Linked DNA regions of Homo sapiens: all the other regions are linked to region 7. Evidence: promoter capture Hi-C in 16 types of primary human blood cells and fetal thymus (Javierre and others, 2016). All regions are on one chromosome and are shown on one strand. The core of a region is centred on a gene start or on the middle of the fragment in contact, and the rest is flanking DNA. Distances in the headings are between cores, read along the strand shown.

Evidence for each region. Contacts are between HindIII fragments. The CHiCAGO score rates a contact against its expected background, and 5 or more counts as called.
Region 1: a fragment that was not itself captured here is called in contact with the fragment with the promoter of FAM227B in region 7 in 1 of 17 cell types (M1 macrophages); the score reaches 5.3 in M1 macrophages.
Region 2: a contact is called between a fragment that was not itself captured here and the fragment with the promoter of FAM227B in region 7, in 2 of 17 cell types (M1 macrophages and megakaryocytes). The highest score is 6.3, in M1 macrophages.
Region 3: a fragment that was not itself captured here is called in contact with the fragment with the promoter of FAM227B in region 7 in 2 of 17 cell types (erythroblasts and megakaryocytes); the score reaches 6.1 in erythroblasts.
Region 4: a fragment that was not itself captured here is called in contact with the fragment with the promoter of FAM227B in region 7 in 1 of 17 cell types (megakaryocytes); the score reaches 5.1 in megakaryocytes.
Region 5: a fragment that was not itself captured here is called in contact with the fragment with the promoter of FAM227B in region 7 in 1 of 17 cell types (megakaryocytes); the score reaches 5.2 in megakaryocytes.
Region 6: a contact is called between a fragment that was not itself captured here and the fragment with the promoter of FAM227B in region 7, in 1 of 17 cell types (M2 macrophages). The highest score is 5.2, in M2 macrophages.

The regions. Positions count from the first base shown.
Region 1 is chr15:50,044,032-50,047,814 of GRCh38, forward strand. ATP8B4 (ATPase phospholipid transporting 8B4 (putative)) reads right to left here. Exons shown (of 28, transcript NM_024837.4): 4 at 3,320-3,433; 5 at 563-661. Among named protein-coding and RNA genes, the nearest start is that of ATP8B4, 73 kb to the right of the region's middle. The HindIII fragment of the contact is 239 bases long and covers 1,675-1,913 here.
Region 2 is chr15:49,229,744-49,233,522 of GRCh38, forward strand. The region is part of intron 3 of GALK2 (galactokinase 2); the gene reads left to right. Among named protein-coding and RNA genes, the nearest start is that of GALK2, 61 kb to the left of the region's middle. RefSeq lists enhancers at 1,833-2,504, 2,505-3,175. The HindIII fragment of the contact is 9,875 bases long and covers 1-3,779 here.
Region 3 is chr15:50,000,418-50,004,288 of GRCh38, forward strand. It overlaps ATP8B4 (ATPase phospholipid transporting 8B4 (putative)), which reads right to left. Exons shown (of 28, transcript NM_024837.4): 8 at 1,736-1,806. Among named protein-coding and RNA genes, the nearest start is that of ATP8B4, 120 kb to the right of the region's middle. RefSeq lists enhancers at 3,189-3,378, 3,375-3,669. The HindIII fragment of the contact is 2,418 bases long and covers 404-2,821 here.
Region 4 is chr15:49,361,140-49,364,712 of GRCh38, forward strand. All of the region lies in intron 13 of FAM227B (family with sequence similarity 227 member B), which reads right to left. It also overlaps a transcript of GALK2 not described here. Among named protein-coding and RNA genes, the nearest start is that of FGF7, 60 kb to the right of the region's middle. The HindIII fragment of the contact is 9,554 bases long and covers 1-3,573 here.
Region 5 is chr15:49,323,527-49,327,098 of GRCh38, forward strand. The region is part of intron 9 of GALK2 (galactokinase 2); the gene reads left to right. FAM227B (family with sequence similarity 227 member B) reads right to left here. Exons shown (of 16, transcript NM_152647.3): 16 at 3,444-3,572. Among named protein-coding and RNA genes, the nearest start is that of FGF7, 98 kb to the right of the region's middle. The HindIII fragment of the contact is 5,212 bases long and covers 1-3,572 here.
Region 6 is chr15:49,877,059-49,880,705 of GRCh38, forward strand. ATP8B4 (ATPase phospholipid transporting 8B4 (putative)) reads right to left here. Exons shown (of 28, transcript NM_024837.4): 24 at 2,318-2,401. It overlaps LOC102724587 (a long non-coding RNA gene), which reads left to right and starts at 241. Exons shown (of 3, transcript NR_187946.1): 1 at 241-370; 2 at 3,527-3,635. The HindIII fragment of the contact is 4,518 bases long and covers 1-3,581 here.
Region 7 is chr15:49,619,472-49,622,952 of GRCh38, forward strand. It overlaps FAM227B (family with sequence similarity 227 member B), which reads right to left and starts at 1,347. Exons shown (of 16, transcript NM_152647.3): 1 at 1,229-1,347. It overlaps DTWD1 (DTW motif tRNA-uridine aminocarboxypropyltransferase 1), which reads left to right and starts at 1,577. Exons shown (of 5, transcript NM_001144955.2): 1 at 1,577-1,651. RefSeq lists an enhancer at 1,689-1,808. The HindIII fragment of the contact is 6,893 bases long and covers 1-2,531 here.

The DNA.
Region 1 (3,783 bases), core at 544-3,043, 430 kb after region 7:
TGTTATTGGTAAGGCTTCTGGCCAACAATAGGCTATTAGTAAAGTTTTGAGAGAGTCAAAACTTATACATGAATTTTTGACTGTACAGGGAGTTGGTGTCCCTAACCCCCACATCATTCAAGGATCAACTATATTTGACTTTGTAACTCCTAATATAATGACAAGAATGTATAAGAATACCTAATATTTACCAGCTCTCAAACCTTAAACAAAGACATGTGATAAAGAATAAGTAACACTTCACTGAGTGAATGCAGGTTGATTTCCAATTCTGCTCTTCCACAAATTGGTTGTATTATTAGCAAATCACTAGCTCTTTCTGGGCTTTAGTTTTCTCATCTATAAAAGGAGAAAGTGAATCTAGTTACTGAAGCCTTCTTGCTTTTAAACAGGCTCTGGTTTTACAGCACCTGTATTAATCATCAAACAAATAGTAAAATAGCTTTATATGATATTAACCAAAATAACTTCATTCAAAATTTCAAATGTATCTTCATTATCTATTTCTGAGAAGCCACAACTGAAATTGAGACCTCAAGAATGCTCAAGAGCAAATACTCACATAGTCATCTGTGGCATCTTTGACAGCTGTCATAGTTATCACCAGGACCAAAGGCACAATGGTGGTAAACCAGGTCAAGGAGGAAATTTCTGGAATTAGCTGAAACAAACATTCCAAATAGTTTAGGGCTTTTAAAGTTAGAAAATATATCTTCCAAACTGTGTCATTTAATTTCAAATTAATGGGGTTATATTGACTTATTTGTACAAATGGAGAATGACTTTCAATAATTTAAGTGTTTGTATTTGGTTATAAGACACATAGAGTAGAATTATTATTGAACTTGTTTTCAAACTACCTAACCAAAAACTGAAATTTTTATAGCAAGGGGAGAAGCTTCTTGAAATCTCTCACAGATGATCACTTTCTCCAATATGTTAAATTTCACCCATCTTTTTCTGCTTTTCATCTCAACTTTTAACAATTTTACCAACTCCTCTTTTTACCAATTCCCAAAGAGAGATTGTTTGAACATCTGCCTTGCACCAGACACTGTGCCAGGTACTTTCCATTTATTACATCATTTAATCCTCGGAAAAGTTCATTGAGTTAGATTCCTACTAGGATTGTTTTTGTATAATCCCAGAAGGTTTGTATTCCACATAAATAGTACCCCCAGTACACAACACAGAATACTACATTATGACGGGTGACCAGGAGTCAGGAAATGTTGCAGACCTGGGTATCATGTCCCAATTTTATAAATGAAGAATCTAACAGGTCATGCAACTGGGCCAAGATCACATACTGTTAAAATTTGAAACTAGGTCTCTTGGACTCCAAGCCCTATTCCCTTGTGCCCATACCTCCAAAGCCACCCACATAAGAGAGACATAGTGACAGTGGACATAAATCTCTTAGGTGGTTTTCAAATGGGATTCATTTGAAAATCTGCTGCTTCGGGGCCATCAGGCAGGAAAGGATGGGGTAGAGACGGTCAGTGGCTAAAGATCAGGCCCCATCAAAACAACTCTAAATCAATTTTACATAGCAGCTTCCATGTAAGATTTTTTAAAAAAAACTCAAAAGCCTCTGATGTAGCAGTAAAAATGTTGAGCTTGGTGTCAGAAAAGCTAAATTCTAGTCCTAGTTCATCATCAACTCATGGTGAAAGCTTTACCACCTAATCTCTCTGGGTCTAATTTCTTCAGCAATAAAGAAAGGAGAGGTTAGACTGAACCATCCCAAAGTTCCCTTCTAAATATAAAATTCTATGAACAAGAGCCTTTGGCCACAAATGAGAAAGCCATTAGAGAAATGAATTCAAAATTCTGGAATGGTGTGAAGTGTTACTTGAAGAAACCAAAAGCAACTTCATGGGGAGAGGTGGGGGGAAGAAATTTGGACTCTAAGCTTTCTTCAACAAATAGTAAGATGTTTATTCATTGTTTGTTTTTGTTTTCCTGATCAGCACCCAGTTCTTCTCAAATATACTCCTATTTCTTAGGGAACCATCATATCCCCTCACTTTCTGTCCACATAACTTTAGGAAACTGATTCCACCATGGATCCAGGGTTTGGCATATGATCTTGGTTAAGCCAATTACTGGATCAAACTCTTGAGCCACAGTGACAGGTTTAGGAATGAAGATACAGCTCCAATCAGAACTAATCTCAAGACTTTTGCTGGAGCAACAGAAAAAGTAATTCCTTCATTCGTTTTCTCTCTCTCTCTTTCTCTCTTTCTCTCTCTCCCCCTCCCCCTCTCTGCCCCACTCTCTCTCTCTCTGACTTGAGTTGAAACCAGGAAGCTGTCAGGGCCACCAAGTAGAGGGCCTACCTAAGAAAGGCCAATGTGTGAAAACAAAAACAAAAACAAAACAAAACAAAAACAGAGAAAGAGAAGCCACATCCTGATGAAATTGTGCCCATGAATCCAGTAATACCTGAAATGAGATACCCATGAATAATTTATCTTTTGCTCAAACTAATTAAGATTTCTGTCACTTGAAACATATTCTTAAATAGATATTCAATTAAAGAGAAAACAGTACTCAAATCTATTAATCTAATCCATCTTCTTACTTCTTAGCCATTCTTGACCTACCAGTTTGATCTGCTTAAAGTATGCTAACATAAATACTAGGTAAATAACTGGCTAACATGAACTATTTATGTGTGTGTATAGTATGTATGTGTACAGTATATATGTAGCTTCCTTGATTCATATGTTTTTCCTTCCCAAAATATCCATAAAAGCTGAAATTTCATTTAAAGGCAAATTTTAGTTAGGAGAAAAAGCAAAGGTTACTAAATACCAATTAACCATTCAAAACTGTAAAAGTAGTCACCTACAGTGAAATAACATATAGCATCATCACTTTATATATATTAAAAATATGTCACTGTTCTTAAATGAAAATGAAATGTGCAGAATTAAGCTCTGCAACCTACTCAGTCTTAGTCACCTAAGATTCTGCCTCAACTCTGGCAATCCCCACACTGTAGATGTGAAAGGGAGATAAAGAAAGGAGGGAGGCTGTGAACAGTAATTATTAGGCTCTGGTTTGGTTCAAATAAAGTGCAAGGCTGTGTTTTAAAGTGACCTCAGTGTTTAAAATGATGAATGTACTACTTTTTAACCATTCCTACCTCTCCCACGTTTGTGAAAAGAAACAGCAACAACAAGATTAAAAATCTGATAAAGGATGATTGTACCTAATCACGAACATTTAGCTAAGTAAATTGACTTACTTTTTACAATTTTATGAATACTTTAAACAAACAGATAATAGAGAAATACAACCTAAATATTACCTGTAAAATCAGAAGGCAAAGAAAATAGGCATTTGCCACTCTTTGGAACTGTTCAAATAAATTAATTGGCAAGAAGGTGAGAATATTATATTTCGATGTGTGGATACGATTATCCTGGAAAAGAAATAGCATCATGTTAGTTTGGGGCAAGGCATTGCTCATGATCAGAAATAGCTCTAAAACCTACAAGCCTGAGCCAGAGTAAGAAAGATAAGCCGGTTATCTAGGAAATTTCAACTCTGTGTGGCTCAAGGCCTTCATTTTTCCCAAGATGATATGCTCCTGATACTAGATGAAATTACTGGTCCATGCCATAAACTCACCTGTAACTAAATATGTATCAAATGCAAAAGTCTACCCCTGAGATTTCTGACTTAAGCACTCAACTATTTGGCAGTCATTGCTTGAGTACCTACTGTATGCAGTATTGAGTTCCTGTTGGAGCCCGCAAGGCAGGAGGGAAC
Region 2 (3,779 bases), core at 485-2,984, 390 kb before region 7:
GTGGCCCAGCTGCGGGGGAGAGTGGGGTTGCTTTTACTGGCAGCAGTCGTAGACAATTGGCTGGGGAGCATGCACTTTGGCTCCAGGTAGTGGCTGCAGGTGGGGTAGCGTTTCCTCGGGGCACTTGAAAATCCATGGTGGCTCTGCTGCTGTGAATACCAGGGTTCTGCCAGTGGCTCATGGTTTGGCCTCAGCAGTGCAATGGAAGTTGCTGTGAGTGAGGGAGTCTGTATTTAGGGCTCGTGAAAATACACAGCAGTCCCACTGCTGGGAGTATTGTAGTTATTGCCAGTGGCTTACATTTTGGCTCTGACAACAGCAGTTAGCACTCGTGGTGTCTGTGGGTAGGGGACATCAGAGAGGTTGCAAGGATGTGGAGACAGGAGCTGTTGATCCCCATGGCAGGATGCGGTCTAGTAGAGTCTGGGATCTCAGGATAGTGATGTGCAAGTTGCTTAAGACTTGGGGGTGTGTGGAACCCAGCATGAATTTCCTCTTTGGAGCAATGCCATCATGTGATTTCCAAGTAGTTCCTCTGTCAGTCGCATGGTCCTAAAGGGTTGAGGCGCTCTCCTATGGCTAGGATTGCAGGAGTCCTTGATAGTAATGTGGACCACTTGGGGTGTTTCTCTTGCCCTTTACCCACGCTGAAGAGCCTCTCCAGGCTCCCAGCTGATTCTGGCTGAGCAGGCTGCCCTGATTTCCTCTCCTTCCTTGCCTTAGGTGTTCCTTGTCACTTCTTGTTGAATTCAGTGTTCTCTCTTACATGATCTATTCTAACTATGATTGTCAACTTGTTATTTTGGTTCTTCTTTATGGAGGAGGCAAGTACCAGATGCCTACAGGCATTCTTCTGTGCCTCCGACTTCATATTTTTTTTGATGCTACTCTTATTATAAATGGTCTACCCCAGATCCAGACACACACAGGTGTCTTATAATGGTCTACCTACCCCAGGTCCAGACACACACAGGGTAGACACTGGGCAGATGTTTCTTTGAAGAACAAGTAAATGAATAAAATATGTAAGTGGAAAGTATTAATGTAATAATGGGTCATGTCTGCTCATTTTCAGGATTCTTTTCTCAGAATTCTACAAACATGGAAGTGGGGGTAGAGAAAGCAAATGGATAATGTAATGCAGGGTTGAGAATTGGTGGGAAAATGAGTGGTTTTGAACCTCAGGAAAAGGCTAGGTAGAGAGGTGAGATAGGGATGTGGGAAAGAGCAAAGATCAATAACTAATCAAAAAGCAGTTTTTTTTTGTTTTTTTCTGACAGACTTGAGCCATACTTCTAATTCTGTGGGAGCTGGCACTTTTCAGTTTGTATTAGTCCATTCTTACACTGCTATAAAGAAATACCTGAGACTGGGTAATTTATAAATAAAAGAGGTATAAATGGCTCATGATTCTCTACAGGATATACAGGAAGCATGGCTGCGGAGGCCTCAGGCAAATTACAAACATGGTGGAAAGCAAAGGAGAAGCAGGCATGTCTTACATGAGTGGAGCAGGAGGCAGAGGGCTGGGGGCAGCTACACACTTTTTACACAACCAAGTCAAGTGAGAACTGTATCACGAGAAGAGTACCAAAGGGGGAAATCCACCTCTGTGATCCAATCACTTTCCACCAGACCCCACTTCCAAAACTGGGGATTATAATTTGACATGAGATTTGGGCAGAGACACAAATCCAAACCATATTATTCTGTCCCTGGCCCCTCCCAAGTCTCAGGTACTCACATTCCAAAATTCAGTCATCCTTCTCAACAGTCCTCAGAGTCTTAACTCATTCCAGCATTAACTTACAAGTCCACAGTCCAAAATCTCATCTGAGACAAGGCAAGTCCCTTCTGCCTATAAGCCTGTAAAATAAAAAATGGGTTAGTTATTACTTCCAACATACAGTGAGGGTACAGGCACTGGGTAAATACTTCTTTTCCAAAAGGGAGAAATTAGCCAAAAGAAAGGGGCTACAGGCCCCATGTAAGTTTGAAACCCAGCAAGGGAGTCATTAAATCTTAAAGCTCCAAATAATCTCCTTTGATTCCACATCTCACTTCCAGGGCACACTGGGGCAAGGGGTGGGCTCCTAAGGTTGGGAAGCTGCACCTCTGAGGCTTTGCAAAGTAAAGCCCCTGAGGCTGCTTTCATGGGCTAGTGTTCATGCACCTGCGGCTTTTACATGTGCATGGTACAAGCTCCTGGTTGATCTACCATTCTGCAGTCTCGAAGACAATGGCCCTCTTCTCACAGCTCCACTAGGTAGTGCCCCAGTGGGGCTCTGTGTGAGGGATTCAACCCCAGATTTCCCTTCAGTACTGCCCTAGTAGAGATTCTCCATGACGGCTCTGCTCCTGCAGCAGGGTTCTGCCTAGACATTTAGGCTTTTCTACACATACTCTGAAATCTAGGCAGAGGCTCCCGAAGCCTTAACTCTTGCACTCTGAACATTGGCAGGCTAAACACCTCATAGAAACACCAAGTTTTATGGCTTGCACATTCTGAAGCAGCAGCCTGAGCTGTATCTGAAGTCCTTTCAGCCACCCCTGGAGGCAGAGGGGTCAGGATATGGGGAGCAGTGTCTTGAGCCTGTGCAGGGAAGTGGGACCCTGGTCCCTGTTCATGAAACCATTCTTCCTTCTTAGACCTACATGCCTGTGATGGAAGGAACTGCTGCAAAGGTTTCTGAAATGCTTTGAAAGTCTTTTCCCCTTTGTCTTGGCCATCAGCATTTGACTATTCTTTACTTATGCAAATTTCTGTAGCTGGCTTGAACTCCTCCTCCAAAAAGGCCTTTTCTTTTCTACCACATGGCCAGCCTTCAAATTTTTCAAACTCGTACACTTTGCTTCCCTTTTAAATATAAGTTTCAGTTTCAGGTCATTTCTTTGCTCACGCATATGAACATAGGTTGTTAGAAGCAGCAGGCTATATCTTGACTGCTTTGCTGCTTAGAAATTTCTCCTGTCAGTAACCTAAACCATCACTCTCAAGTTCAAAGTTCCACATACCCCTAGATGCCTCCAGGCTCTTTGTTAATGCATAACAAAAATGACCTTTACACTAGTTCCCAAGAAGTTCCTCATTTTCATCTGAGACCTTCTTAGCTGGGATTTCATTGTCCATATCACTATCAGGATTTTCAAAGCAACCGTTCAACAAGTCTCTAGGAAGTTACAAATTTTCCTCATCTTCCTGTCTTTTTCTCAGCCCTCCAAATTGGTCCAACCTCTACCTGTTACCCAGTTCCAAATGCAAATTCACATTTTCAGGTATCTTTATACCAATGCCCCTGTCCTTGTTACCAATTTTCCATATTAGTTCATTCTTGCACTGCTATAAAGAAATACCTGAGACTGAGTGATTTATAAGGAAAAGAGGTTTAATTGACTCACAATTCTACAGGTGTACAGGAAGCATGGCTAGGGAGGCCTCAGGAAACTTACAAGCATGGTGGAAGGCAAAGGGGAAGCAGGCATGTCTACATGGCCAGAGCCAGGAGGAAGAGAGAGAGGTGGGAAGTGCCACAGACTTTTTAAATAACCAGATCTAGTGAGAGCTCTATCATGAAAACAATACCAAAGGGGGAAATCCACCCCCATGATCCAGTCACCTCCCACCAGGTCCCACCTCCAACACTGGGGAATCACAACTTGGCATGAGATTTGGGCAGGGATGCAAATCCAAATTATATCACAGTTCTTTCTGGAACGTTGCTCATGTAGCTTCCTACATATGTGCAACTATCCTCCTCTTTTTCTCCTCATACCTGCCT
Region 3 (3,871 bases), core at 363-2,862, 380 kb after region 7:
AGTTTTAGCTTGTATTTCCTCAGTAGTTAATGATGTTGAGCATCTTTTCATGTGCTTATTTGCCATTTGTACGTCCTCTTTGGTGAAATGTCTCTTTTATGTCATTTGCCCATTTTCAAATGGGATGGTTTGTTTTTTTACTATTGAGTTTTAAGAAGTTTTTTTAAAATATATTCAAGATACAAGTCCCTGGTCAAATAGATGGTTTACAAATATTTTCTTCCAGTCTGTAACTTATCTTTAAGTCCTCCTAACAGGAACTTCTGTGGAACAAAAATTTTTAATTTCTTGAAGTCCAGTTTATCAAAGTTTTCCTTTTATGGATTATGTTTACTGTGTCAAGTCTAAGAATCTGACCAGACAGCCCTAGATTTCAAAGATTTCCTCCTATTTTTTTCCTCAAAGCTTTTTATACTTTACATTTGAAATCAATTTCTGTAATACTTATAGAGCTATTCAAATTATCTATTTCATATTAAGTGTATAGTCTTTTTTTTGAGAAAGTGGTCCATTTCTTCTAAATTGTCAAATTTATGTGTGCACAGTTGTTTGTAGTATTTCTTTTTTACCTTTATAATGTCTTCAGGATCTATACCAAATTTCCATGGTTCATGCATAATATGCTAATTTGTGTCTTCTCTTTTTTTTTCTTTTATCAGTATTCTTAGAGGTTTGTCACTTGTATTGATGTTTCCAAAGAACTAGCTCTGTGTCGTTGATTTTCTTTATTTTTTTTGTTTTCAAGTCTATTTATTTCTGCTCTTATCTTATTATCTCCTTTCTTATGCTTCTTTGGGGTTTATTTTGCTGTTTTCTAGGGTTTTTAGATGAATGATGAGATTATTTATTTGAGAATTTTTCTCTTTTCAAATGTATGCCATAAATGTTCCTCTCAGAACTGTTTTAGTTGTGTCTGAACTGTTCTGTCCAAAGTAGGGTCCCACAGACTAAAGTACTATTTGAATAGCTCAATATGACAATAATTTGGAAGGCACCAGTTAAAACCATGGACTCTGGTGTCAGACTGCCAGGTTCGAGTCCTGGCTTCACTCTTCAGATGCTTTGGACAAATTACCTAGGCTCTCTAAGCCTTGATTTCATTGTCTGTACAATAGGGCATAATTACATAGCACCTACATCAGGATTAAATGATAAATTCCATCTAAAGAACACAAATACATAGTGTCATTAAAATGTAAGCATTCAATAAATGTTTTTATGCCAGACAAACTAAATCCTCTGAAACAGAACTGCTATATGGTCTATAACTAAATTCTAAATTAATATCAACATCAAAACTGCATCATATTCTGTTTCTCTCTTCTTTTTCTATGTCTTCATTTGACACAGTTCCAAAAGGTTGCCTTTTAAAGTAACATCAGTCCTTCCTTCCCTCCTCAAGGAATCTTGATCTCTACCCCTCTCATTTTCCCTATAAAATCACTTGAAATCAAAACAAGCAAAAACTTTTTTTAAAAAATCTAAGGAATCTTACTGAAGATTCTCTGTGTAAAGTTATTCCTGTATATAAGTTTCGCTCACTGTTTCTGCAAGAAAATAAATTTAAGAGAAAAAACAGTTTCAAAATTACTGTAGAGTAATTAACTATGGACTTTGCAATGTAAACTCCTATGTCTCCCAAGAAGATACTGAACAAGGTTAAGTCTTATCTCTAAAGACATTACTTTTAAATAAATTAAAAACCAACCAAATTATTCTAATTTTAATAACTTACCCATCAAGCTCAGCAGTTTCAACATAACAGAGACCATGTGGCTCACTACTTGATAGGAGAAGTAAATCAGCCTATTTTCAAAAATCATAACAAAAGAATACTTGAGAAGTTAGATTGGTTGAAAGTCTTCTACAGTATATCACCTCTTGACTACTAAAGAGGCAACAGAGCCTCAGAAACAGAGTAAAAGAAGTGAGATCCTGTTCTACCTCTATGTCATATGCCCTGAACCAAACCCTCCCTCTTCCCTGTTCCTCCTTTATATGCCCCTTGACTATCACAACATAAGCAAGGAAAGGAGCTATCATATGAATTAATAGCCACTTGATTCACCTTTTTTTAATGAAACATATAAATTCTATTTTCTTGCTTTGATAATTACTAACATAAAACTCTCTCCAATAAATAATTGGAAATATATGCACAAACTTTAATTACCTAGTGTCATCAGTTAAAAGCAGGGAGCAGGCAAAGGAGATGGGGAAAAGACAGAAGGGAAATAGATGGAGGAAACTGAAAAAATAAAATAAAAATAAGAGGGGCAAGGAAGTTAAGAAAGAGATAAAGATGGAAAGAAAAAAGTAAAAGATGGTAGGGAGTAAGAAAGAGGAGAGCTAAGATAAAGTAGGGACTAAGGAAAACAGCAAGACAGAAGAGAAAATGTAGTCAAAGGCAGTGGGAAAAAATCAGATACTGAGTAGTTTGGATTTTTCAGAGATAAACAGTTCTATTCTGATGTCCAATTGAGCTTTGCATATCACCTATCACAATTCAGTTTTAGCATCCTGGTAGCTCTCTAAATTGGCAAAGTGCTTATTGATTTTATTTCAAAGCTCTAAACTTATTTTAAAAATAAGTGTTTTTATAAAATTTTGAAGGGTCTGAATGTCTAAAAAGAATTGGCTTAAATTTTAGCAATTTAGTTTGAGACATTAGCCTAACAATTTTCTAGCTATGTCTGAATGTATGATTGGCATTCCAAATCTGTGATATTTTCTTACCTTTATTTTTAAAAACATTAGAATTGCTTTGTTCTTGAATCTTGGGGGTTAAATTTAGAATCAACTTACTTTCTTGATTGTCTCAAGCTTTTAAATTTGCAACTCAAAAATAGGGTGTGCATGTGTGTGTGTGTGTGTGTGTGTGTGTGTGTGTGTGTGGTTTTGTCTAAACTGGGATAAAACAGAGCTGGGGAAAAATACCCTGTGACGGCCCCTAAAAGAATAAGTGGGTTTGCATTAGCAAGGCTCTTACACAACTCTGAATCAAAGAGCCACAGAAGCTTGTTGAGGCAGAAATTCTCTGACTTGTCACACTGTGAACAGAGGAAAGCCACATAAAGAAAGTGATGCCGCTCTTGGGCCAAAAACTACCCATCCTGATTTTAAAGGAAAAAAAAATTTTTTTTGAAAATTCACCTTGATCTTATTTCCCACATTCAAATTTCAATGCATAAAACCAGGCACAAGGCACTAAACAGCAATAGAGCTTAACAGTCAGTCTATGGGCCTGCACCTCTCCTCCCCTGGGCTTAAAAGGCTCATGTTAAACAAAATCCAAAATTCTCTAATCCTAAGAATCTGTGATTGAATATAGAGAAAGATGCCTATTTGTACCCAGGGCTGCTTTTCTTTGAAACTCGAATCCAGTGTTACTGTTGAAGACTGGGTGGGGCTGCACTGACACTCACACCATGGTAAACAAGGGGTGGAGTCCCTGCACACAGCTGGCTAGGAACATGTGACTGAGGCGCCACTGCCATCTGGCGGTCAGATTCTCTCCTGAGCAGTGACCCAGCTTCCCACAGGCTGACCCCCATAGGTTCCGGGCTAACTGTTCTTGCTCACTGTACTCTCCAGGACCAAGACGCCTACCTTCCCCACCTCCGCCCATCTCCCCAGTTACCAGCTTTTTCTTTGATGTTCTCTGAACCTTCCTCCTGCTTTCCTACTCCTTGATGGCCTTGCTGCACTCCCTTCATCCATCCTCCCTTCTCCCTGTCCCTCTGCTGAGGCCTGCTGTTCCCTTTTGTTAACCTCGTCCTTCAAGGCGTTAATTCATTGTGGTTGAGGAGGGAGTGCGAAGGGAAGGCCCAGCGGGGCCGGGAGGATAAGCGGTCAATGCGCTCATTGTCAT
Region 4 (3,573 bases), core at 265-2,764, 260 kb before region 7:
ATATATCATAACATCACTTTTTACCCCATAAATATATACAATTATAATTTGTCAATTAAAAAATTAATTTAAAAAACTTAAAAAATATTACCTATGATGCAAATTTTTTTTTAACTTTTATTTTAGGTTCAGGGGTACATGTGGAGGTTTGTTACATAGGTAAATTGATGTTACAGGGATTTGTTGTACTGATTATTTCACCACTCAGGTAATAAGCATAATACCCAGTAGGCAGTTTTTTGATCCTCACCCTCCTCCTTCCCTCCTCCCTCAAGTAGGTCCTGGTGTCTGTTATTCCCTTCTTTGTGTCCACATGTACTCAATGTTTAGCTCCTACTTATTAGTGAGAACATGTGGTTTTAGTTTTCTGTCCCTGCATTAGTTCACTTAGGTTAATGGCCTCCAGCTCCATTCATATTGCTGCAAAGGACATGATCTTGTTAGTTTTTATGGCTGCACAGTATTCCCTGGTGTATATGTACCACGTTTTCTTTACCTAGTCCTGTTGATGGGCATCTAGGTTGAATTCCTTATCTTTACTATTGTGAATAGTGTTGCAATGAGCATACGCGTGAATGTATCTTTCTGGTAGAAAGATTTATATTCCTTTGGGTATATACTCAGTAATAGTATTGCTGAGTTGAATGGTAATTCTGCTTTCAGTTCTTTGAGAAATTGCCAAACTGCTTTCCACAACGGTTGAACTAATTTACATTCCCACCAGCAGTGTATAAGCATTCCTTTTCTCTGCAACCTCTCCAGAATCTGTTATTTTTTGACTTTTCCATAGTAGCCATTCTAACTGGTCTGAGATGGTATCTCATCGTGGCTTTGATTTGCATTTCTCTTATGATTAGTGATGTTGAGCATTTTTTCATATGCTTGTGGGTTACGTGTATGTCTTCTTTTGAAATGTGTTCATTCATGTCTTTTGCCCACTTCTTAATGGGTTTGTTTGCTGTGTGCTTGTTGATTTAAGTTCCTTATTAACATAGTTTGGCTCTGTGTCCCCACCCAAATCTCATGTTGAATTGTAATCCCCATGTGTTGGGGGAGGGTCCTGGTGGGAGGTGATTGGATCATGGGAGTGGATTTCCCTCCTGCTGTTTTCATGATAGTGAAAGTTCTCATGAGATACGCTGGCTTAAAAGTGTATGGCACTTCCCCCTTCACTCTCCTACCACCACGTGAAGAAGGTTCTTGCTTCCCCTTCACATTCTGCTGTGATTGTAAGTTTCCTGAGGCTCCCCAGTCATGCTTCCTGTTAAACCTGCAGAACTGTGAGTCAGTTAAATCTCTTTTCTTCATAAATTATCCAGGTTCAGGTAGTTCTTTATAGCAGCATGAAAACCGACTAATACACTTATAGATTCTGGACATTGGATCTTTGTCACATGCATAGTTTGCAAATATTTCTACCCATTCTGTAGGCTGTCTGTTTACTCTGTTGATAGGTCTTTTGCTGCGCAGAAGGTCTTTAGTTTAATTAGGTTTCATCTGTCAATTTTTGTTTTTCTTGCAATTGCTTTTGGCATCTTTATCATGAAATCTTTGCCATTTCCTACGTTCAGAATGGTATGTCCTAGGTTATCTTCCAGAGTTTTTTTAATAGGTTTAGGTCTTACACTTAAGTCTTTCATCCATCTTAAGTTGATTTTTGTATGTCGTGTATGGAAGGGGTCCAGTTTCAATCTTCTGCATATAGCTAGCCAGTTTCCCAGCACCATTTATTGAATAGGGAGTCCTTTCCCTATTACTTGTTTTGTCAACTTTGTCAAAGGTTAGATGGTAGTAGGTGTGCAGCATTATTTCTGAGCTGTCTCTTCTGTTCCATACGTCTTTGTGTCTGCTTTCATATCAGTGCCATGCTGTTTTGGTTACTGTAGCCTTGTAGTGGAATCTGAATTTGGGTAACATGATTCCTCCAGCTTTGTCCTTTTTGCTTAAGATTGTCTTGGCTGTTCAAGCTCTTTTTTGGTTCAACATAAATTTTAATATAGTTTTTCCTAATTATGTGAAGAATGTCATTGGTAGTTTGATAGGAATAGCATTGAATCTGTAAATTGCTTTGGGCAGTATGGCCATTTAAATGGTATTGATTCTTTATATCCACAATCATTGAATGTTCTTCCACTTGTTTGTGTCATCTCTGATTTCTTTGAGCAATGTTTTGTAATTCTTGTTGTAGAGATCTTTTGCTTACATGGTTAGCTGTATTCCTAGGTATTTTATTCTTTTTGTGGCTATTGGCATTGGGATTGCAGACTTGATTTGATTCTCAGCTTGGATGTTGTTGGTATATGGGAATGCTATTGATTTTTGTACATTGATTTTGTATCCTGAAACTTTGCTGAAGTTGTTTATCAGCTTAAGGAGCTTTTGGGCAGAGACGATTGGTTTTGCTACATATAGGATCATATTGTCTATAAACAAGGATAGTTTAACTTCCTCTGTTCTTATTTGAATGCCTTTTACTTCTTTCTCTTGTCTGATTGCTCTGGCCAGGACTTCCAATACTATGTTGAATAGGAGTGTTGAGAGTGGGTATCCTTGTCTTGTTCTGGTTTCCAAGGTGAATACTTCCAGCTTTTGATGATGTTTGCTGTGGGTTTGTCATAGATGGCTCTTATTATTTTGAAGTATGTTCCTTCAATGTCTAGTTTGTTGAGGGTTTTTTATCATGAAGGGATGTTGAATTGTATCAAAAGCCTATTCTGCATGTATTGAGATAATCTTATGGGTCTGTTTTTAGTTCTGTTTAATGTGATGAATCACATTTATTGATTTGCACATGTTGCATGAACCTTGTGTCCAAGAGGTAAAGCCTACTTTGTCATGGTGGATTTGCTTTTTGACATGCTGCTGGATTCCGTTCGCTAGTATTTTGTTGAGAATTTTTGCATCTATGTTCATCAAGAATATTGGCCAGATGTTTTCTTTTTTTATTGTGTCTATGCCAGGTTTTGATATTAGGATGATGCTGGCCTCAGAATGAGTTAGGAAAGAGTCCCTCCTCCTCAATGTTTTGGAATAGTTTCAGTAGGAATGGTACCAGCTCTTCTTTATATATCTGGTGGAATTCAGCTGTGAATCCATCTAGTCCTGGGCTTTTTCTGGTTGGTAGGCTTTTTATTTCTGATACAATTTCAGAACTTGTTATTGGTCTGTTCAGGGATTCAGTTTATTCCTAGTTCAATCTTAGTAGGTTGTATGTTCCAGGAATTTATCCATTTCTTGTAGGTTTTCTAGCTTGTGTGCATAGAGATGTTCATAGTAGTCTTGGAGGTTGTTTTGTATTTCTGTGGGGTTGGTGGCAATGTCTTGTCATTTCTGATTGTGTTTATTTCTATATATTATGTTTCTCTACAGCTGAAAAAATGTTCTTAATATAATACACATGCAGTCTGAAGTAATTTCAGTTCTCAAGTTTATGAAAGGATTGGGTTTTAAAAAAACATACTACAAAAATATGCACTTACATTTATTCCAAAATTTTATATTTCTAACCTCTGCAGTGATAAAAGGTCCAAATTTTCACCGTTGAACTGCCTTCTTGCATGGTCTTAAACAGTT
Region 5 (3,572 bases), core at 247-2,746, 300 kb before region 7:
GCTTCTTGGAAACTATTTGTATGAAAAGACAACTAATTGAGTGAGTAAATTAACGGCTTGAATACCTAGAATACCTAAGTTGCTATACACAAGCAGAAAATCTTACAGTGATCTGAGCTAGACTGAATTAAAAAGGCATCTCCTACTTAGCATATAGGACAATGTATAGAACAACTTTGTGACCCAAGTGGAGAGAAGGGGGGTTGGGAAAGAGCACCACTGCTAGCTGTCTTTTTCAGTTGAACCTTTTCCTGCTCTTCAAGAGAAAATCAGTTTAGAATCTAAAGAAAGGAGCAGGGAGGATGAAGGAAACTATACTTACAGAGTGAGGCTTTTTTAAAAAATTAAATTAATGTTAGAACTTAAATTATATGAAACAAAGTAAATAATGAAGGAAAAAGATAATGTTTGCTGAATTATAAAGTATCTTTTGTAGCCAAACAAAATGTAAACAGAAAGAAATGACTAAATTTTAAGTAGAATTTACTGGAGAACACAAAACAATTTTGAAACCAAGTCAGTTATATGTGAGACAGCTCATTCACTATTGGTTCCCTCGTTTTACTTAAGACAAAATGGTTAATGCCTTTTGTTTTTGTTTTGACACTTGTTGAAGTTAGAGAGGATTAATTGCTGCATTATCGCCCAAGCTATTAAGGGAGATGAATGACAAATTTTAGTGGATCAACTATGATTACAAAAGTTAATTTACTTTGTCTTCCTCAGAAGTCTTTCTGCAATGTATTCCATGGTGAGGCTGCTCAGCCTCTCGCATCCATTCTTCAACAAGGTCATAATGGGGAAGAATGAAGTGCAAATCCATTGTTGCATGCTCTTTCCCCATGACCTTAAGTGCTAACATGCATACCCTGTCAAAAAAAAAAAAAGAGGGAGGGAGCCATTTCACCTCCCCTTAGGGGTTCACTTCTCTTTGGGCCTCTTTGACTTATGAATATACATGCCATTTGCAGGACCCAAACCCACTGCTCTTCAATGGCCTTTAAGTGGCTTACATTTCTAAAGTAGACATGTGGGCATATTTTCTTATCCTTTCTCATTTGAACACTGAAGGCTGTGGTTTCTTGACTGTAAAGCAATTTGAAGGCACGGTGTCTAACCTGGCTGTAAAAATCATAGAAACTGCTAGAAGTTCCCTTACCTGTGACTCTTGCCATTTCCCAGAGAGCAGAAGCTAGAAGTCTTCTCAAGTAAAAAAATACACTGCTGACTGCTTATATTATATATAATTTTTAAAATATTTTAAGGGAAATATCGTAGTCCAGCAGCCATTTATTAGAACCTAGAATTTCTAGAATTGTGCTGGGCTGGGGTCAGAGAGATGGATGTGACCTGTTCCTAAATTCTAGATTTCCTGAAATAATTTATTTCATATCCATTTGTATAATATATATTTACTTATTTAGAAAGAAATGACACAGAATTTAAATACAAGGCATAATTTCTTACCTTCCCTCTTTTTCAAGTGTGTAGTGCAGTTGGGTCTCCTGGATCTCCTCCCCACCCTCTCCATTGCTCTGTATCTTGCAACTTAGTAAGTGCTTTATGGTCGAATTAGTTCACTTAAAAGTAGGAAATTTGACTTTGGCTATATTGGGTGCCTGGATAGTTAATTCTGTGAATACACAAGGATCAAAGAGTAACATTCCTCATAATCTCCATCCCTCATCTGCCCTAGCCTTTGCCATCGTGCTTTATAAAGTAGAGGCTGCCTTTGTTGCTTTAACAAACCCTTCTACATTATTCCCAATCTAGTCATCACAATCATCAAAGTGGGATCCGAGGGATTTTAGGGTTTTGGTTTTTGTAATTCTTGTATTGCCTCTCTGATGTGCAATAGCTCAGGAGATATATTTTTAATGTTTTATTGTTCTTCCAGAAAAAGGCGCAAACATGAAAAGTTCACTAAACACCCTTGGTTCACTTACTTTTCTTTCTTAATTTAAAGGGTATATCGGTCTCCTAACTTTCGGTCTTCTCAGAATTTCTATGGCATATGCCAAAGGGCCTATTAAGTACCAGCAGGGAACACTGCAGACAGACCTTTCTGCCTTTATAAGTGTATACAGCTGCGCAGGCTGCTGACCAGCTGCTGGGGCAGCCCTGACTTGTGATCAGATGTGCCACTGACTTGGGGGCAGAAGGCTATTTCTAATAGCACTTATCATTCTTTATTTGGGAAATTTGAGCCCTGATTTCAGACCATGTGATTGATGCAATTCAGTCCATTTTCATCTGTAGCAGGCAGGGTGGTGACAGAGCAGCTCTGGAGACTCAGTAGCAAATATCTTTACCTACAAAGACTTCCAGCTTCTGCTCCCTGGAAACTAGTAAAAGTCTCAGGAAAATAGACCTCTGGCCCAGTTCCTATAGGTTTTACAGCCAGATTAAAAATAATACTCTGTTTGCTTTAGGTTCAATTTTGAAAAACCACAGCTTTCAAAAACTGTTCAAATGAGAAAGTATAATAAAATATGCCTTTTAGAAGTTGGATTGAGGACCCTTAAAGACTTGATAACTTGAGTCCAGCAAAACGGCATATTTTAGATCTTAGAAAATCAAGTAAGAAGGCACAGTATTCTTCTCTAGACCATGTCATGGCTGGCTTTAATGCCCATATTTTAGGGTCTTCCAGAGACACTTCAGTGACACCTCAGTTTTCCCCAGCATCTTCCACAGTAAGAGTTTGATACGACTGCATATGACAACCATTTTTTTTTTTTTTTTTTTTTTTGAGATGGAGTCTCACTGTGTCACGCAGGCTGGAGTGCAGCGGTGCAATCTCGGCTCACTGCAACCTCCACCTCCTGGGTTCAAGCAGTTCTCTGCTTCAGCCTCCTGAGTAGCTGGGATTACAGGTGTGCACCCGGCTAATTTTTGTATTTTTAGTAGAGACGGGGTTTCACCATGTTGGTCAGGCTGGTCTCAAACTCCTGACTTCATGATCTGCCTGCCTTGGCCTCCCAAAGTGCTGGGATTACAGGCGTGAGCCACTGCACCCGGCATGACAACCATTTTTTAAATCCAACAAACTGCAAACAGGCCCTTTGCCAACCTAGAAATTTAGAATAATCCAAGGATCCCAAGGTCAGAGAAATTTTTTAGCCTGGATGATGGGATTTCAGGCTTAGTCACTGGGCCATAAATTGAATGTTAAAGGGATAGGAGGAGATCAGTGATGTTTATTTGTTTGTAAGCATTTTTTTTCTTTCTTAAATACCTATGTTCATTTGAAAAGCGTATTTTAATATATATAATAAAGCAGATGATAAAAAGAAATCAACTGAGAAGAATCACTGACAGGAAAATCAATTACTGACATGCAGTAATTCTGATGTTCTAGAGTAGAGGTAGTATTCTATTGATATGTCCAGGAAGTAAAATATCTCATTTAGATTGAAAAAAAGAGACAAAATTGTGCTAAATTAATCATAGAGCCTTTAATCCACTAGTAATTTGGAGTGAATTTTATTAAGAAGAATTAATTGTAAGTACATGTTAACTTTCGTGTCAGGATAAATTGCATCTTTTAAAGCTAAGTGATCTGTGTACAT
Region 6 (3,647 bases), core at 73-2,572, 260 kb after region 7:
TCCAGGTGAGAAGGAGGCTGGGATGAGGATCCTACCCAGTGAGAATTTTAACAGCAGTTACCAGGTGTTCAGGACAAAGAAAGAATATAGACAGAATGAGAAGGTGGCACATTTGACACCAACCAGGTCCCAAGAGAAACTAAATGCTTATCAAACCTAATGTGCACACAAATCGCCTGGGAAACAGATTGTGATTCAATAGGGCTGAGGGCCCAAGACTGCATTTCCAGCCAGCTCCAAAGTAATGCTGATAACCACAGTGAGCACCAAAGCCAAATGCCAAAAACCAAAAAGGATGGCAAGAATCAACCACAGGGGACATCAGAGGACCACAGGTGGAGGAGAAGAGGCGAAAGTGGAAGCAACACAGGTGGTGAACTATTGTGGGAGAGGAACATTCCCCTTCCTGCTTGTGGGATGGCCCAGGTCTCTCCAAACAGAGTCCCATGGAAAAACACAGGCATATTCTCTTTAGAAAGTCCTGTTTTTAGATGCTTTTGGATGCTTGTTCCCCTAGTTCAGTGACTGAGGGTTATGTGCGCAGGCTTTGAAACAAGACAGTCATGAGCTCAATCCCTGGTAACGGGTTTAGCTGGTGTGTTATCTTAAACCTGTTACTTAATCCGCCTGAGCCTTGGTTTCCTCATGCCCAGAAATGCAAACAATAACACCTCCCACATGGAACTATCGCCATGATTAAACCAGTATGTAAAGTATTTAGTAGAGTTCTTGCCACATCGTAAGTAATAAATATGCCAGATGCTTCTATAAATAACAATTAATAAAATAATGATAATAACAACAATAGCAATAATGTAGCAACCTCAAAGTTAAGAGGCCTGGTTCTAGTCTTAGCCGTGTCACTTATTGGCTGTGTGGCTTTAGGGAAATGACTCTCCAAGGCTTGGTTTCTGCCTTAAAAAATGAGCAGATCTGTTGATGATTGCTGAGGCCTGTCCAGCATAGCATTCCACGATCCTGTGATCAGTTTAAGGGCCAAGGTTGACAAAGCAGGAAAGGAGAGAGGAGCAGACACTCAACTTGATGGTAATAGGAAGCCTTATTATATTTTTTTTGAATTGCACAATAACCATCTTTTCCCAGAAACTGCTTTATTTTTATTATTTTATTCCACATTCTGGGCAGCTACAAAGCTCCAAGAAAAGAAACACTTGTAAACATGGGCGCTGAGAAATGAATGTGCTTAATCCTTTACATCTAAGGTCTTCAGAAGTTCATTACTTTTTTGTATAATTCCAGAAAATATGCCTTTCGCAAACTGCCCTTTTTACATATGAGAAGGGAGACTTAACAACTGACTACAAAGCCAGCCAAATGGGAGACTGGAGTGAGCTCATAATGTGAAGATTTATATTTTGCAATAGACGGCTTTGGCCCAGAAAATGAGGCCTAGCAAATAGGTCTAACAACAGCCTGGAGAAAATGTGGTCTCCTTAAAAATACTTTTTTAAAAAACAAAAAGTCTTTTTAAAAATAAGACACTCTAATTGTGCCACGGAAATTCCACTGGCTAGTCTTTCACTTCCCCACAGGCAGCCAGACTTTTTCCCCTTTCCAGGAAGTCCCTTCCAAGGCTCTGAGTATGCCAAGGATCTACCATTTTTGTGATTGATCCTCTCCTTTCTCCCCACTCAAGCACATTGATGCTGGGACAAAAGAAATCCATGCTCTTTCTTTCCTTGGCCATGGAGCTTCTCATCCTCCTCTCCCACTGGCAGACTGCTCTACTGGTCTGTGGCTCCTGTTCTGGGCTGTGTGTAACAAGGAAGTCTCACTGCAGATGTTCGCAACAAGGGAGTCTCACTGCAGGTGTTAGCCCCCTGTGTTCCAACCTAGCCCCATGATTTTCTATCATTGCATGGTTCTTTATAAGCTCTCAGAGGCTAAGGCAGCATTTCCCCGTGTGTGAACCACAGACACTAGTTCTGAGACATATTAATTAATAGGTGCTATATGAAAACATATACAGTCATAGAAGTTTGGGAAATGCTGGGTTAAAATGAAGTTAAAGAGATTACTTCGTACAGGACTTCTAGAGCCTTTAGAGCAATCTATGGGGTGTGAACCTCTAAGAGAAGAGTAACCAACTTTTATCAAATAATGCTTTTGGGGAAGCTAGGGTATAGGGGTAAGGGAGGCACAGTGGACCTGGAAGCATGTGTGATCCATGCAAAAGCAACTAAAACAACTGCATTCCTAGGGCTGCTACTTAGAATTGTGTTTTCTACTTAGAACCCACAAAAAACTAAAAGGCATAAAAGAGAAACTAAGTTATAAAGATGGAAAAAAAACATACCTGGTCAAAAATCCCCATGGCTAAAACAGGCAGTGATGTGTAAACAATGTTAAAAAGGGTGATGAACCACTGGTCATAAACAGTCTGAAAAGAAATATAACATATAAGTGAGAAACATCATCCATAGTAGTGAGAATATTCACATTTAGGTTAAATAACCAGGTTTTCTGAGGTGGGTGGGAGTTGACTTTTGGAATCAGACAAATATGAATTCTTTCCTAGACCTGCCTCTTATCAGCTCTGGTGCCTTAATGGGATACTAGATCTCTCTAAACGGCAGTTTCTTTATCTCTAAAGTGATGTATACCCTTCCTGCAGTGTGGCAGTGAGGACAAAATAATACATGCAGCAGTACCCCTAACATAGTGCGGGACACGTATGAGCCCCTGACCTTGTGGTGGGTTGCCATTTTATTCTCCAGGTTTTCAGTGGCTTATAATGAGTCCAATTATCTGATCCAAGTGGTAAACAAAGGATTCACTAAAATCTTCAGAGATAAATATAGTAATAAGCCTGTTATTTCTATCCTGTGTTAAAATGGAGAGGTTTTTGCGGGGGAGTGGTTTAAAGCAAGATGGGCATAAATAGCAAAACAACAAAAATATCCCCTCACACCTTTGTAGACTAATTACACAAGAATTCCCTGCATGGGCCTCACTAAAAGTCAATGAGGCATGTGAAGCAGGCATATATCCCCATTTTGCCTATGAGTACACACAGTTGTGGAAACAGAACCTTTCGGTTACAGAGCTTATTATGGGCAAAAGCAAAAATTAAAATCAACTTAATTAGTTAGAAGGTAGTAAGTGCTAGAGAGGAAAGGGGATAGGGAATGTGGGAGGGCTGTAATTGTAATACAGCAGATTGAAGAAAGTCTCACTGAGAAGTGAATTTGAGATAAGACCTGAAGGAAATGGATCTAACATGCAGCTTTCTGAAACAGCTGGAAATGCTGGGACGTGCAGCATTCTATACTGCAAGTAGGCCCCATGAAACAACCCTAAGGCAAGAAAGCATCCACTATGCTCAGAGAACAGCAAGGTGGCCCAGTTGGGTAGAGCAGAGTGACCTGTAGGAAGAATAATGGATGTCAGGAGGTAAGAAGAACAATCCTATGTAACTAAACATGGCTTATTACCTAAGTGAAAGTAGAAGACATTAGAGGACTTTAAGCAAAGGAGCAACCTGGTCTTATTTATATTTTAACAGGATTACTCTGGATGCTATGCTGAGAAGAAACTGAAGACAATGGTGGAAGTGGGAAAGCTTATGACTCAGAATAACTATTTCTAATAACAAATTTTAAGTTCTCTTCATGGTAACTCTCCTT
Region 7 (3,481 bases), core at 97-2,596:
CCATACTGTGAGGAAACCCCGGCCATATAGTTACAGAAGCTCTGCTAGCATGCCCACTCTAGTCTTTCTAATTGAGTTACCAAAGAAAAGCTGATGACTATGCCCTATTGACAACACCACCTGTGAACATAATAAAATGGTTGTTTTAAGCCACCATATTTTGGAGTAATTTATTACATACGATAGCAACCCAATGCTCAATCTAACAAGTAGTATTATTTGCTTTTTAATCTGTGCAATTTAACTACTTTGATAAAATTTAGAGTTAAACTAAAAAGGAAAATGGTTGTGAATTCTTCTTGGCTTATAGACTTTGCTATTCTACTTTCCCTACCCAGAAAATTCACCTTTCTCCCTAAATCACTGGCTTTCAAACTTTTTAAGGTTTGAAATACAGTAAGAAATACATTTTACAAACAAGCCCTAGTGCACACATACACGCATATATACAATTAAAAGCTCCATAAAGCAGTACTTTACTAACTAACACTAAATTTACTTACATGCGCTGATATTTCCAATCTATATTGTTTCTTTTTTTTAAGTTTAAAGAGATTTCCTTGCTTACAAATGGGTCAAGACCTCCACTAATGGGTCCCACACAATCCCCTTTCCAGTTGAAAAACACTGTCCTAAACCTAAATCATTCTTCAAGGCCTTACCCAAGTCCGAAAAAGAAGCCTTTATTGACCACTCCATTCTCAGCTTTCTTGAAATTCCTGTAATTTATTAAATTCCATTTTTTATCTCAGTAGTAAGAATATTGCATTTTCTGTACTTGAATTTAACATGCTTTACTTGATATCGTGAGCACTTCTAGGGCATTGTAATGTCCTTTATCTACCACTTGATAAATTCAGAGTAGTCAATAAAACATTGCTCAACATTTGACCATTGTGTTTTAAAATCTTAGTTGTTAGAGTGCACTTCCGTTTGCGCATTGTTTGGGGAGAGGCACGGACAAATGTTCTAATAACTTATCCACATATTATACTTCAAAGTGGAAAAACACAAAGTACTCTTAACTCTATATGCGTGTTTTTATGCAAACTAAATCATTAAGATACAAATGATTTTTCTAATAGCTTTCATTACCACACAGCACACGAAATAATGATATTGATATAGCCACGAAAGACTAATGTAACCAAGTTCTCACAATCAAAATATCTTTGAGGTGGGCAAAATGCAAACTTTTCTCTGGGATCAACATTTCTTCACAACTCACTGCAACTACGCCTTGACAGTATGTTTCGAGAACCGCTTCCCAATTTTGTTGTCCCAGCAAGAATCGGGAGGAAACTGGGTGAAAGGCTGCGAGGCTTGAGGCGGGTCCCGGACGAACGCGGCCCTGCCCCTCGCCGGAGCCTCTCGGGAGAAGTGCGACACCGCCGCTGATTGAGAGGCTGAGGCGGAACTTCCCGTCTAACCCCCCCCCCGCTGTCGTCCCAGCCTGTTGCTTAAGCCGCGCGGTGTGCGGTGTGCGCGGCCCCTGCCTTAGCAACGACGCTAGTAACTGCCTGGCTCCTCCCTCTGGTGTCTCCCGGAAAGCGCTCCGTCTGGTCCGTGCGCGATCACGGCCCGGCGCGTGGCTCGGGCTCGGGCGGAGCTGGAGACGTGTGGAGCTGTTCGAGGACTCGCGGGTGTGCAGGTCTGAGTACCACTCCGATCCCTGGTGGAGGTCCCCGCGCCTCTCTGGAGACCAGTGGTCTGGCCCCAGAGGTGCGGCCGCGGGAAGTGGACATTCTTTGTCAGGACCCTAGCGGAGGTCGCGCTGGGTGTCGCCTGTGAGGGGGATCCTCGGTTTCTGCGCGGTCTCTTGCTTTTTTTAGGATCTTGCGGGCCCTTTGGGAAAAAGGTTTCCAAATTTTTCCTCAAAAAAAAAATTATTTTTCCTACCAATGATTTTCGGTGCATTCCGCCCCAACGAAAAGTATGTCCTGGCAAAGTCAGTTCCCTAGGAACCCCATACTTTATTTTATTTTATTTTTAGTATTTGGAGTGGTTTGTGGGGGTTTGGTTATCACGGAAGGGGAAGCGTAGTACAGACGTAGAATTAGTGATGCCATGCAGTGTATTTAAAATATTGAGGTTGTGGTTACATAATAAGCAAAAGAGCCTGTTTCTTACGTCTAAATTATTTATTGGGAATGTAGGACAAATAAGGAAGTATATTAACATTTTCAGTCGCCAGGCCCACAAAGTTGGATGGTAAAATCAATACTGTAGATCGCAGCATGTAAGGACTAACCCAGTGCACCATGAAAACGAAGGCAAGACAGTTTGTTACCATATGGCGGGTGGTGTGGGAGAGGCCATTGATCCTATATGAAAAAGGGTACTACTACCTTGGATTATGAAAAATGAATGTTGGACCTGTAGGTCCTATGTGACCAAGTTCTTAAAAACACTCTAAAGAAAATTGGAAGTGGTTTTTTTCTAATACTGAATTGGTCCACAATATAGGACAGGGGAGTCTGTATAGTGTTCCATTGGGAGGTGAGTCAGCTTACAATAATGGAAGAGGTAGAAGCTTTTTGTTATTATTTTGGAGAAAAAAAAATTGCCAGCCTGCCACTTGTGCTAGGCTGCAGACGGCCCATAAAGGTAGTTTGTCAGATACTTCAGTAGTGAGATGCTTACTGGATGTGTTTTGCAGAATGGTTTTGATTTAGTTAACAAGTGTTTGTTGAGTTCCTGCTGTTGCATAAGAATCAGGAATAGGTGAGATCAGGGAAGGAATCTGCTCTTACAGAGTTGAATGCTGGAGGGGATAGATTCACTAAAGTACCTCCACAATAAATGCATTTTTCCATGTCAAATATGTGGAACTAATAATAAGTACTCAAAGAGGTTTAAGACATTGCTGTGGCCCATCTATGAGTTAATAAGGAACTGAATTAGAATCCTGACTTTGAGAGTGAAGATAGAGGATTATATACAAGGTAGATGCAACTTGGTGAGTATAATTAATTTGGGGTGGAAATTGGGTAGAAGGAGGAATAAAAAATTAATGTATTTTTAGCCTTAAGTTCCAGAATGATGGACGCACCATCAAGGTGTTAAAATTGTTAGTTCCTTAGGAACAGTCTTTATGTTTTCTAAGTCTTTTTAGCCCCCATGACTCAAATTGTACTTCCTTGCACATATTTGATGTTAACAAGTATGTTTTAAAAATTTTAAATAACCCCATTTGCAATAAAATCATTTGCAATGATTTTCTCACAGTCGAGGCAGGCTGTTGGCTCGGTTAGGACAGATGCCCTGATCATGTAGTTTCAGAGACCACTGGAGGGAGCTGCCCATGATTTACAATTGCTGGCCTCTTCTACGTGGCCACCTCAGCCATAAGTGAGAGTATATAGGTGAACTAAGAGGTGGAGCCATAAACATTTCTCTTTTACTGTCTTACAGGTATTTGTGGTGGTTGATTTTTCTAGAGGAAGGTTATTTATATAAAGCTTCACTAATATCCATTTAG